Regions from separate parts of the Homo sapiens genome. Here region 2 is linked to region 1. The links are contacts of gene promoters, found by promoter capture Hi-C in human tissues and cell types (Jung and others, 2019). All regions are on one chromosome and are shown on one strand. Each heading gives the region's core, a stretch centred on a gene start or on the middle of the fragment in contact. The rest is flanking DNA. Distances are from core to core; before and after follow the strand shown.

Region 1 (5,638 bases), core at 1,087-3,586:
TGCCTCAGCCTCCCCAGTAGCTGGGACTACAGGCGTGCGCTACCATGCCTGGCTAATTTTTGTATTTTTAGTAGATATGGGGTTTTACCAGTTGACCTGGCTGGTCTTGAACTCCAGGCCTCAGGTGATCAGCCTCCCAAAGTGCTGGGATTACAGGCATGAGCCACCGAGATTCATTTTACCAAGAACTCCACGTTGGAAAGCCATAACATGATTGCTTTTTGAGGACTTTACCCCTGAAATTCAAATGTTCCCTCACCCATAGCCATTGATGGGGGTGGCAGGAGGAGGGCCAGTAAGGAACCCTGGGATTTGCTTATGTCCATGTTAGGGCCTAACTTGCCTTTTAGGTCAGTAACCCGGAGGGGGAAACCTGGTTTATTAGACTAAGTGTCCTCCTGGTTTCATTCTGGCTGTCAGCAGTAGCCTGTAAAAGACAACTCGAAGTGTAGATGGATTTAACCTGGCGTCCGTAACATCTACTCTTCCAATTGTCATAAAATGTGGGCTGGCTGACATGAGTGGAATTTTTCCTTCGTTTGGATAAATGTGTCACGGTCCAATGCTGTTGTGACAGATGGAAAAATCCTATGTAGGGCACGCAGCAGCCTACCCGGCATGGAGGAAGGACTCCAAGGGACCGTCTGGCACCGCCGGGCTGATAGGAACCCATCTTGTCTGTCTGTGAATTATTCATGTGCTGCACTTCCTGAAAAGAATGCTCCTGTTTGACTGCCTCGCTCGTAAAACCGCAGAGAATTCACCGTTAAAGGTGAGAGGCTCCCTGCAGTAGGGAGTGGAAGGGGCCAGGGCACAGCAGAAACTCTTTGCTGCTGTCTGCGAACAGCATGAGAAGGACAGCACGCTGCACTGAAGTTGGGACCCCAGGGGTCTCGCTGGGTCTGTGAGTGGCAGTGCACTCTGGGTGGCAACCCCCAATTAGCTCAGTGCAAGCTCTTCATGGTGCCATCCAACACCCTGGGCAGGGGCCAAGCAAGGTGGCCCATGCCTCTATGCCCAGCACTTTGGGAGGCTGAGGTGGGAGGATCACTTGAGCCCAGGAGTTCGAGACCAGCAGAGGCAACATAGCAAGACCCATCTCAATTTTTTTAAAAAATTTAAAAATTAGCTGGACATTGTGGCACATGCCTGTAATCCCAGTGCTTTGAGAGGCTAAGAGAGGATTGCTTGAGGCCAGGAGTTTAAGACCAGTCTGGGCAATACAGGAAGACTCTATCTCTAAAAAAAGAATTTTTTTTTTTTTTTTTGGCTGGGCACAGTGGCTCACATGTATCATCCCAGCACTTTGGGAGGCCGAGGCAGGCAGGATCACCTGAGGTCAGGAGTTCAAGACCAGTCCGGCCAACATGGTGAAACCCCATCTCTACTAAACATACAAAAAAGTAGCCAGGCTAGTGGCGTGCACCTGTAGCTCGGAGGCTGAGACAGGAGAATCGTTTCAACCCCGGGGTCGGGGGTTGCAGTGAGCCAAGATGGCACCACTGCACTCCAGCCTGGGTGACAGGGCAAAACTCCCTCTCAAAAAACAAACAAAAACAAATTTTTTAAAAACTACCACGGTGTGGTGGCTCCTGCCTACATGTAGCCTCAGCACTTTGGGTGACTGAGGGCAGAGGATCACTCGAGCTCAGGAATTCGAGGCTGCATTGAACCGTGATCGCACCACTGCAGTCCAGCCTGGGCGACAGAGCCAGACCCTGTCTCAAAAAAATAAAAAAAAAAATCCTGTGAAAACTCGGGCGTGGCCAGACGGATTCTCCCCTCCCCACCTTCCTTTCCCCTCCACTGCCCACCTGCACCCGCCCGCCCTGTCCCCACTCCCCGCCCCTCTACGCAGCCAGCGTCCAATGCTGGGCACCCCCCGAGGCTCACCCTGCCAAGCCTGGGGCTCCCCTTTTGCGCCCGGACCCAGGGGCAGGGAAAGCCCAGCTCGTGGTCTGTGGGTAGCCGGACCCCCGATGGGGCGGTGGGGGGCCTCGCCTTGACTCCCAGAGCTGGGGCCGGGGACAGGAGCTGGGGCAGGAGGGATGCGCGCGGGTCGGGGTCTTCCCACCTCCCCTGCTCCTCTCCCTCGCGCGATCCCGGGGTGGTTCCAGGTGAGGCGGGGACCCCCACCCCCCCACTCTCCGAGGAGGCGCCGCCAGCCCCGCCCCTCCCGGCCCGGCGGGTGACGTGGCCGCGGCTCTCCCGCGGGTGGGTCACGTGTTGGCGGCGCCTGGTTGCCTTGGCAGCGGCTGCGGCGGCCGCGGGGGCGGGGTGGAGGCGGGGCCGGGGGACCCCGCGCGACCGGCGGAAGGAGGGAGGGGGCCGCGCTCGGCGCCCCGGCCGGGCCACTGGGCCACAGGCCACGCGGCCACGCAGTCCGAGCGGGAGCCGAGCCGGGCGGGGCGAGGGCAGCTCCGGTGAGTGTGGCGGCGCGGGGGCCTGGCGCGGGGAGCGGGGTCCCTGCGGCTGGGGGGGCCGGAATTGGACCGGGGACGCTCGGCGGGGAAGGGGACGACTGTAGGCTGCCCGGGCGCGGTCACTACCCATCCGGGGTTGGTGACCTCCACCCCGCGGGATCCCTGGCGGGGTGCGGCGCCCAGAGGATCAGGGTCGGCGGCGCAGCCGGTTCCGGACACCGGGGCGTCCCTGGGGGAGGGACAGGGATGCAGCCTAGCGCCCCTGGGAGGCCCCCTCCCAGTGCGCCTGCTGGAGAGAGACACTCGCCATTGCCGGTGCCCCAGATGCTTAGAGGAAGTCAAACTCCAAGACCGCCCTCTGGAAATGTGTCCAGTAGGCCAGCCAGGAAGAAAAGCTCATCTCTAGAGAGGGGATCGCGTTATTCTACAAGACCTGTTTTCTCGGACTGCTCATTAAAGCAAAAAAAAAAAAAAAAAAAAAAAAGCAACCCCACAAGGTTCAGTCCCGGAGCATCCTCTAGGGTCTGTGCCACCTGACAGAAGTACAGGGCTCCATCCTGCCCCACCCCACCCCCTGCCTGGGATCCAGTGTGAGGCCCAGACTCTGTCCCTCCCCCTGGGCCACCGGGCCTGGCACACACAGTTGGCATTGGGAACATAAAGGATGGATTTGAACCCCCTCCTGGGCTGCTCCTTCGAGACCTGGAGACCTGTCTCAAGACCCAGCTCCAGGCAGACAGACATCGTTTCCTCCACAATCCCACCCACTCTGGGGACATCTGCAGGGCCTCACCGATGGGGCATGGGAGGCCTGGCGGCTCCCAGGAAGCCACCCTCAGCCCTCACTGCCCTGAGCTCTTCACCTCCACTCTCAGACCTGAGCCCAGCCCACCCTTACTGATGGGGCATCCCTCTTGTTCACCCTTCCTTCCTTTGGAGGCCACCAGGCTCTCCCTTGCGTCCCACTCCTGCCAGTCGGCCAGCCATTTCCCTGGGTTGAACTGTGGTCCCAAACCAGAATGATCTAGCAGTGCCCAGACCGTTCCACTCACCAATTTCTTCCATTCTCCTGTGGCTGGACGCCCAGTCATGCTGCCCAGACCCTCTGGCTCATTCCACAGCCCCAGGCTCCAAGTGTCTTCCACCCACATCTCCCTGCCCCCTCCACCCCCCAGGTGGCAGCCAGTCTTCCCTCCATATCTCCTGGACAAGGAGAGCCACCCCACATGTACACCTGGAGTGGCCTTCCCGTCTCTCGGAATCCTTCCATGCAGGCAGCATCTTGTCTTTGAGGAAAGGTCCCTCTTTTTTAAAATTCTTTTTAGAGGCCAGGCGCAGTGGTTCATGCCTATAATCTCAGCACTTTGGGAGGCCAAGGTGGGCGGATCACTTGAGCTCAGGAGTTCTAGACCAGCCTGGCCAACATAGCAAAACCCTGTCTCTACCAAAAATACCAAAAATTAGCCAGGTATGGTGGCACACACATGTAGTCCCAGCTACTCGGGTGGTTGAGGCGGGAGGATCGCTTGAGCCTGGGAGGTAGAATTTGCAGGGAGCTGAGATTGTGCCACTGCACTCCAGCCTTGGTAACACAGCAGGACCCCATGTCAAAAAAAATTATTTTTAGAGACAGCGTCTTACTCTGTTGCCTAGGCTGGTCTCCAGCTCCTGGCCGCAGGTGATCCTCCCACCTTGGCCTCACAAAACACTGGGATTACAGGCATGAGGCACTTTGGCATGCAAAGGGCCGCTCTGTCCCCTCCCCGGTGTTACCTGCAAGCACCTTTTCCTGGCCTTGGTGTGAGGCAGCCAGTCCTCTGCTCCCTGCCCTCCATTGAAGCCTTTAGCTCAGTGGATGAGGATTGCCCCCCCCTCTTTTTTTTTTTTTTTTTTGAGATGGAGTCTCGCTCTGTTGCCCAGGCTGGAGTGCAGTGGTGTGCTCTTGGCTCACTGCAACCTCTGCCACCACACCCAGCTATTTTTTTTTTTTTAAGACAGAGTCTCACTGTGTCACCCAGGCTGGAGTGCCGCGGTAGGATCTCAGCTCACTGCAACCTCCGCCTCCTGGGATCAGGCAATTCTCCTGCCTCAGCCTCCTGAGTAGCTGGGATTACAGGCGCCCACCACCATGCCCAGTTACTTTTTGTATTTTTAGAAGAGACAGGTTTCCACCATGTTGTCCAGGCTAGTCTCGAACTCCTGACCTCTAGTGATCCGCCCACCTCAGCCTCCCAAAGATGACAGGTGTGAGCTACTGCTCCTGACCCACATCCCCTTACCTTGCTCCCCTACTGGGAGGCCATGAATTCTGGCCTCTTTCATCTTGGATCTTTAAGTACCAAGTGCGCTAAGCACCTGTGTGATGGAGGAGGGAGGACGGAGGGAGCAAAGGTTAGCGTCTCACCCCTCCAGTCTCTGTATACTGCGGTCATCAGACCTGCATGCTCAATTCTGTTAACTATGGGGGTGGGGGGAGAGGAAAAATGCAGTTTCCAAATTACAGCATTTTCTATTATGTGGAGCTAACCTACGGATTGCAGCGTTTCTCTGAATTCTCCCCAAGGGAAGGAACGTCCCAGGGATGGAAGTGCTTGGATGCGGTGCTGCTGGCTGCGGATGTGCGCAAGGAGATGGGATGGAGAGCCTGAGTTGGCATTCGTATAAATGACCTGGTAATTGGCATCCCCTGGCAGAAATAGCACAGAACTGTTCCCAGAGGTCTTGTTGGCCAGGGAAGGCTGTGGCTTTGTAGCCTTGTTGAGAACAAAGGGAAAGGCGACACTGTTTTCCACCTCCAGCACCTTCCTGCGTAATTTCCAAATTGGGGCATTTTCAATTATGGGGGGCTCGACTCTGGCATGGATGGACTAAGTTTGGGGCATTTCCTCAGCTGCTGACCCTGTTAAGCACTCCCCACTCCACCCGTCCACCCCAGCCACGCTCCCTGGGACCTAGAAACACGGATCTGTGTGTAACAGCCTGACATAGACTTTCCGTGGGGCCTATGTGGGCCTGGACATAGAAGTTACTCTTTTCGTTTCTTTTTTTTCTTTTCTTTTCTTTTTTTGAGACGGAATCCTGCTCTGTCACCCAGGCTGGAGTGCAGTGGCGCAATCTTGGCTCACTGCAACCTCCGCCTTCTGGGTTCAAGCGATTCTCTTGCCTCAGCCTCCCGAGTAGCCGGGATTACAGGAGCCCGCCACCACACCTGGCTA
Region 2 (5,966 bases), core at 1,673-4,172, 54 kb before region 1:
AAGCGATTCTCCTTCCTCAGCCTCCTGAGTAGCTGGGATTACAGGCACATGTCACCACGCCTGGCTAATTTTTGTATTTTTAATAGAGACTGGGTTTCACCATGTTGGCCATGCTGGTCTTGAACTTCTGGCCTCAAGTGATCTGCCCACCTCAGCCTTCCAAAGTGCTGAGATTACAGTCCTGAGCCACTGCTTTCGGCCTTACAGAATTGTTTTGTTTTGGGGCATTCAGAAGTCTGACATAAAAATTAACTTGAGACTTTTAGGTTCATTCTTTTAATCTTCCATTTTCTTTCCTTCCTTGCTTTAAAAATACCTTGGACTTATTTTCTGCCCTCGATTTTATTTACTTCTTTAGGCATTCAGATACCAAAACCTCGTCCTCTACCTATGCTTGCGAATTGAGTCACAGCTTGTGGTTTACCTTATTTCCCCAAGTCCATGCTCAGTTGATGTGATGATATAGCGCTCCCTCAGCTTTCCCCTCTTTCCCCAGTGCTCATTTATGACCCGTCTGTGTGTTCATTTCCCCTTCCCCATAACTGGCATCATGCTCTGTCCATAGTAGACATTCAGGAAGTGTGAATTTCATAAGGGAATGTTGGTTCCTTTTCTTGCCTTTTCAGGAGTGTCCCCCTAGAACCCGTTTTCTACTTTTTTGGTTTTCTTTGTATCCCTTAAAAGAGTTTTTCTAATCTCAACTTCTAAGACCTTTTTTCTTGTGTATTTTTGCAGTTTGCCTCCAGATTGATATGTCTGACACTTTTAACCTAGTTGAATATTTTACTTGACAACATAGCAGTACCAGTGAGATAGTTCACTTCCTTCTTTCTCAGAATGTCTGATGATAAACTGTGCACATTCCAAAATCATGAATTCTGTCTACCTTCCTCACCTCCCAGTATTTGATTGTGTTAGTCTCCTCTCCATTGTTTGTGTTCTTTGTCTTCTGTGAAATGCCTTGCAGATCATCAGCACATTGTTTCTTTTGACATTAGTGTTCAGTATTCTCCCATACCTGGATTACAGTGGATCCATCTTCCATTCAAAGGATCATGGTCCTTTTCCTTCATCTGCATTTTACTGGCCCAGATAATATATATTTTCCCTCCCTTTCTTCCTCCCCTCCCCTCCCTCGCTTCCTTCCTTCCTTCCTTTTTGAGATGGAGTCTCACTCTGGTCACCCAGGCTGGAGTGCAATGGCATGATCTCGGCTCAGTGCAGCCTCCCCCTCTCAGGTTCAAGGGATTCTCCTGCCTCACCCTCCCAAAGCAGCCGGGATTACAGGTGCACACCACCATGCCTGGCTAATTTTTATATTTTTAGTAGAGATGGGGTTTCACCATATTGGTCAGGCTCGTCTCTAACTCCTGACCTTGTGATCCGCCTGCCTCATCCTCTCAAAGTGCTGGGATTACAGGCCTGAGCCACTGTGCCCAGCCTATTTATTTATTGAGACAGAGTCTCACTCTGTCACTGAGGCTGGAGCGCACTGGCGCAATCTTGGCTCATGATAACCTCTGCCTCCCAGGTTCAAGTGATTCTTGTGCCTCAGCCGCCCGAGTAGCTGGGATTACAGGTGTGCACCATCATGCCCGGCCTATTTTTGTATTTTTAGTAGAGACGGGGATTCAGTCTGTTGGCCAGGAGTTCACTCTGTTGGGCTCCTGGCCTTGTGAGCTGCCTGCCTCAGCTTCCCAAAGTGCTGGGATTACAGGCGTGAGCACTGCACCCAGCCCCCTTCATTTAATTTTAAATTGTGGTTAAAAAAAGAACCTAACATGGCCGGGCGTGGTGGCTCATACCTGTAATCCCAGCACTTTGGGAGGCCGAGGCGGGCAGATCACGAGGTCAGGAGATCAAGACCATCCTGGTGAACACAGTGAAACCCCATCTCTACTAAAAATACAAAAAAATTAGCTGAGTGTGGTGGCGGGCACCTGTAGTCCTAGCTACTTGGGAGGCTGAGGCAGGAGAATGGCATGAACCTGGGGGGCGGACTTGCAGTGAGCAGAGATCGCACCACTGCACTCCAGTCTGGGCGACAGAGCGAGACTCCGTCTCAAAAAAAAAAAAAACCACGTTTGACCTAGCCCAAAGATTCCAGCACATAAGAACTCCAGGGAAATGAGTGGCTCACAATAAACCTAGTAAACCTATAAAGACAACTGGAATTAAAATGTGCTCAGGTCCTTGTAGAAGACAAGAAATCCAAAGGAAATCAAGCAAAGGGGGAAAAAGAAACAGAAAAGATAAAATGAATGTACCAACTCAATACTAGGCCATAAGGCTAAGTCTCCATAAATTTCTTTCTTTTTTTTTTTTTTTGAGACAGAGTCTCACTCTGTTACCCAGGCTGGAGTGCCGTGGCACAATCTCAGCTCATTGCAACCTCTGCCTCCCGGATTCAAGCAATTCTCACGCCTCAGCCTCCCAAGTGGCTGGGATTACAGACAAACGCCACCACATGCAGCTAATTTTTTTATTTTTAGTAGAGACAGGGTTTCAGCATGTTGGCCAGGCTGGTCTCAAACTCCTGGCCTCAAGTGATCTGCCTGCCTCAGCCTCCCCAAGTGCTGGGATCAAAGGTGTGAGCCACTGTGCCCAGCCCCTACATAAATTTCAAACACCACATTCCCTGAATACAACACAAAAAAGTTAGAAATCAAATAATGAAAATATAACTAGCAAAATTCTGTATGTTTGAAAATTTTAAATATTTTCCCAGAAACTATAAAACTACATGTTAATGTGGATAAATCTCAAACAATCTTAACTGAAATAATTAAATCACAGAAGCCTGAATAATGGATTCATTTACATAATTAAAGAACACATTCATAGTGGTAACACTATAATGAAAGATGAGAAAGATTAACACAAAGTTCACCCTAGTGTTTACCTATGGGTAATAAGGGGACTGTGAGGTAGGGTAGAAAGAAGGTACACAAAGGATCTCTACAGCACTATTAATGTTTCACTTCTTGAGCTGGGGCTAGAGATCTGGGTAATCATTTCATTTTTATTTTTTAAACTACATATAAGCTTTGTACACTTTTGGATATTAGAACTTCAATAAAATTATAAAAAAGAGAAACAGGGGAAAAAGTATAATTGTCAAGATGGAGCTAAAAAAATAACATGGGTGAACAAGGTGCCACCCACATGCAAGCTTCCTTCCCATGTCATGTAATGCCTCTCCTCATCTGCTCCATCAATCAATAAAGGCATAATCACTCCTGTGATACCTTTAAGAAAAGAACACACTCTCTCAAAGCTGGGTGCAGTGGTGCACGCCTGTAATCCCAGCCTCCTTTGGGAGGCCGAGGCGGGCAGATCACCTGAGGTCAGGAGTTGGAGACCAGCGAAACCCATCTCTACTAAAAATACAAAAATTAGCTGGGCGTGGTGGTGCTTGTCTGTAATCCCAGCTACTTGGGAGGCTGAGGCATGAGAATCGCTTGAAACCAGGAGGCAGAGGCTGCAGTGAGCCGAGACTGTGCCACTGCACTCCAGCCTGGGTGACAGAAAGAGACTCTGTCTCAAAAAAAAAAAAGGAACATGCTCTCTCATTCAAGGTTACCCTTCTATCACTCCAAGGATTCACTCCATAATCTTATCTTTCTTGATATGTTACATTCACTAAAACGTTCACATCAAATCAAGTTTGTAGACACTTGTCCTTACCACCTTACAAAAAGTGAGATGGTATCAACAGAGGTGAGACACTGCTTTACCTGCATGTCACTTTTGGCAGCTTTCACAGCATTGAAAAGATCATTGGCTGGTGGCTCTGACTGTTTCCGGCTATGACGATGTACCACTCGGGACCCTTTCTCTGGATGTTTGCCATCTAATATGTATAAAAAGATCAGAAATATGAAAAAAAGGTAACAATGACATTAACACTTGGTCTCATCATTATCACACAAGTAGGCTTATGCTGCCACTTCCATGGCAGAGTCTGAGTTAGTCCTGAAATAATTGATTTTTATATTATGAAGTTTATTAACTTTTTTCCCTTAAAAAAAAAAAGTCCTTGAGTCCCCTTCCTGTATCCCTATATCCTAACGTCCTTTTCTCTTCTTTTCTCTTCAAAATTTCTCTTCTTCCTATTTCCGTCCCTTAACACTTTGTAAATCTTGTCCTTTTATGAACCATATCACCTGAACCTCTTTTAGGTTTTTTTTTTTTTTTTTTTTTGAGACGGAGTGTCGCTCTATCACCCAGGCTGGAGTTCAGTGGCGTGATCTCGGCTCACTGCCAGCTCTGCCCCCTGGGTTCATGCTATTGTCCTGCCTCAGCCTCCCAAGTAGCTGGGCTGCTTCCCCCACAAGATTCAAAAACAAAAGAAAACTGGCTGACTCACCGGTGTTGCTTTTGGTGGTCGTTTTGCTGCTTTCTTCTTCACACTGTGATTCAAGCTGTCTTCAAAGTCATTGCCTTCATCAGCTAATAAAGAGTCAGTATTCCTGTGAGAAAGTACCGTTCTCTTTAAATATAACCACCCTAATTCCCTCCATATAAAAGGCTAATGAATTAGTTTCTCTGTCTCTCACTGCATCCCATCTCCATGAGAAAAACATATTCAGAATTTAAGAAAAAATGAGCTTATTGTTAGTAGGAAGTTGGGACAAAGTCTTTTTTTTTTTTTTGAGACAGAGTTTCACTCCTGTCACCCAGGCTGGAGTGCAATGGTGTGATCACGGCTCACTGCAACCTCCACCTCCCAGGTTCAAGTGATTCTCCTGCCTCAGTCTCCCGAGTAGCTGGGATTACAGGTGTTTCACCATGTTGGCCAGGCTGGTCTCAAACTCCTGACCTCAGGTGATCCACCTGCCTTGGCCTCCCAAAGTGTTGGGATTACAGGCGTAAGCCACCACACCCGGCCAGGACAAAGTCTTAAAGGAAAACTTTCACATGAAAGCAGTGGAGACGAAGAATGAGGAAATGAGGCACGGGAAGGACAACCCTTCCTAGTATTCTCTCCGAAGAAGAGAATCAAATGCTACTCACTTAGCGGGTAGAGAGATCACTGCTCTTTGTAGAGAAAAACAATCATGGCCCAGGAAGTCATCCATCACTCATCCATAAATGGGAGAGTAATATGGACCTAGAGTTAAATTTCACCCATGAAACATCAACCACATGTCATATCAATTCAAGTGTGTAACATTGATATAATCGGGTACACCACAGCAGCACTGACAGAAACAGAAATGATTCAGAGAAAGCCAATTAAAACAGCCAGGGGATAAAGCAGATCTGTATGACATTAGCTTTTTTCCTTCTGGAAAGATAAAAAACCAAGATATATTATTATAACCTACACAAAATAACCTCATATGTGGTAATAAATAAGGATACACAGACCTGTTTACAAAATCCCCAAGTAGAAGAACTAGGGGACACCAGATAAAAAGTTTATACAATTTACCAGGCAACAAGTAAAGAACTCTTTACTCACCCATCTGCCACCTCCCAGCCCCCACCAGGGGTTGTACATGCTGAACACAGAAATGTGTTTAAGAGAGGTTTAGACACGATGGATGATGGATTAAAAACAGGATGTGCTTGAACCCGGAAGGCGGAGGTTGCAGTGAGCCAAGATCACACCACTGCACTCCAGCCTGGGCGACAGGGCAAGATTCCATCTCATACAAACAAACAAACAAACAAAAAACAGGATGTACTACTATTTTGATGTCTACAACATCTAGGACCACCAAAAAAAAAACACCTGGAGCTGGAGGGAGGGTGTCACTGTGCTGAACGAGTACAGCACTTCTGGTGTATTCACACAGTCCCACGAATATTATCATCAATGTGGGAAAACGAGAGGGGGAAGGCTGCCACGGACACAGGAAGTGGCCGCACAATGCAACATCTACTTACCCTCTGAGGGATGGTTTGAGTCCCTGTCATCGAAGGGTAGACTGGCAGAGGAACTAGAAGATGCAGACAAG

Evidence for each region. Contacts are between HindIII fragments. The study calls those that stand out against the background at their distance.
Region 2: a fragment that was not itself captured here is called in contact with the fragment with the promoter of ORAI2 in region 1 in 1 of the 25 tissues and cell types used here (psoas muscle).

Annotation. Positions count from the first base shown.
Region 1 is chr7:102,431,239-102,436,876 of GRCh38, forward strand. ORAI2 (ORAI calcium release-activated calcium modulator 2) reads left to right here and starts at 2,337. Exons shown (of 4, transcript NM_001126340.3): 1 at 2,337-2,423; 2 at 4,987-5,095. RefSeq lists silencers at 104-398, 1,797-1,936, 1,967-2,746. The HindIII fragment of the contact is 14,608 bases long and covers 1-5,638 here.
Region 2 is chr7:102,376,728-102,382,693 of GRCh38, forward strand. All of the region lies in intron 4 of LOC100630923 (LOC100289561-PRKRIP1 readthrough), which reads left to right. It also overlaps the pseudogene LOC100289561. Among named protein-coding and RNA genes, the nearest start is that of PRKRIP1, 17 kb to the right of the region's middle. The HindIII fragment of the contact is 5,110 bases long and covers 368-5,477 here.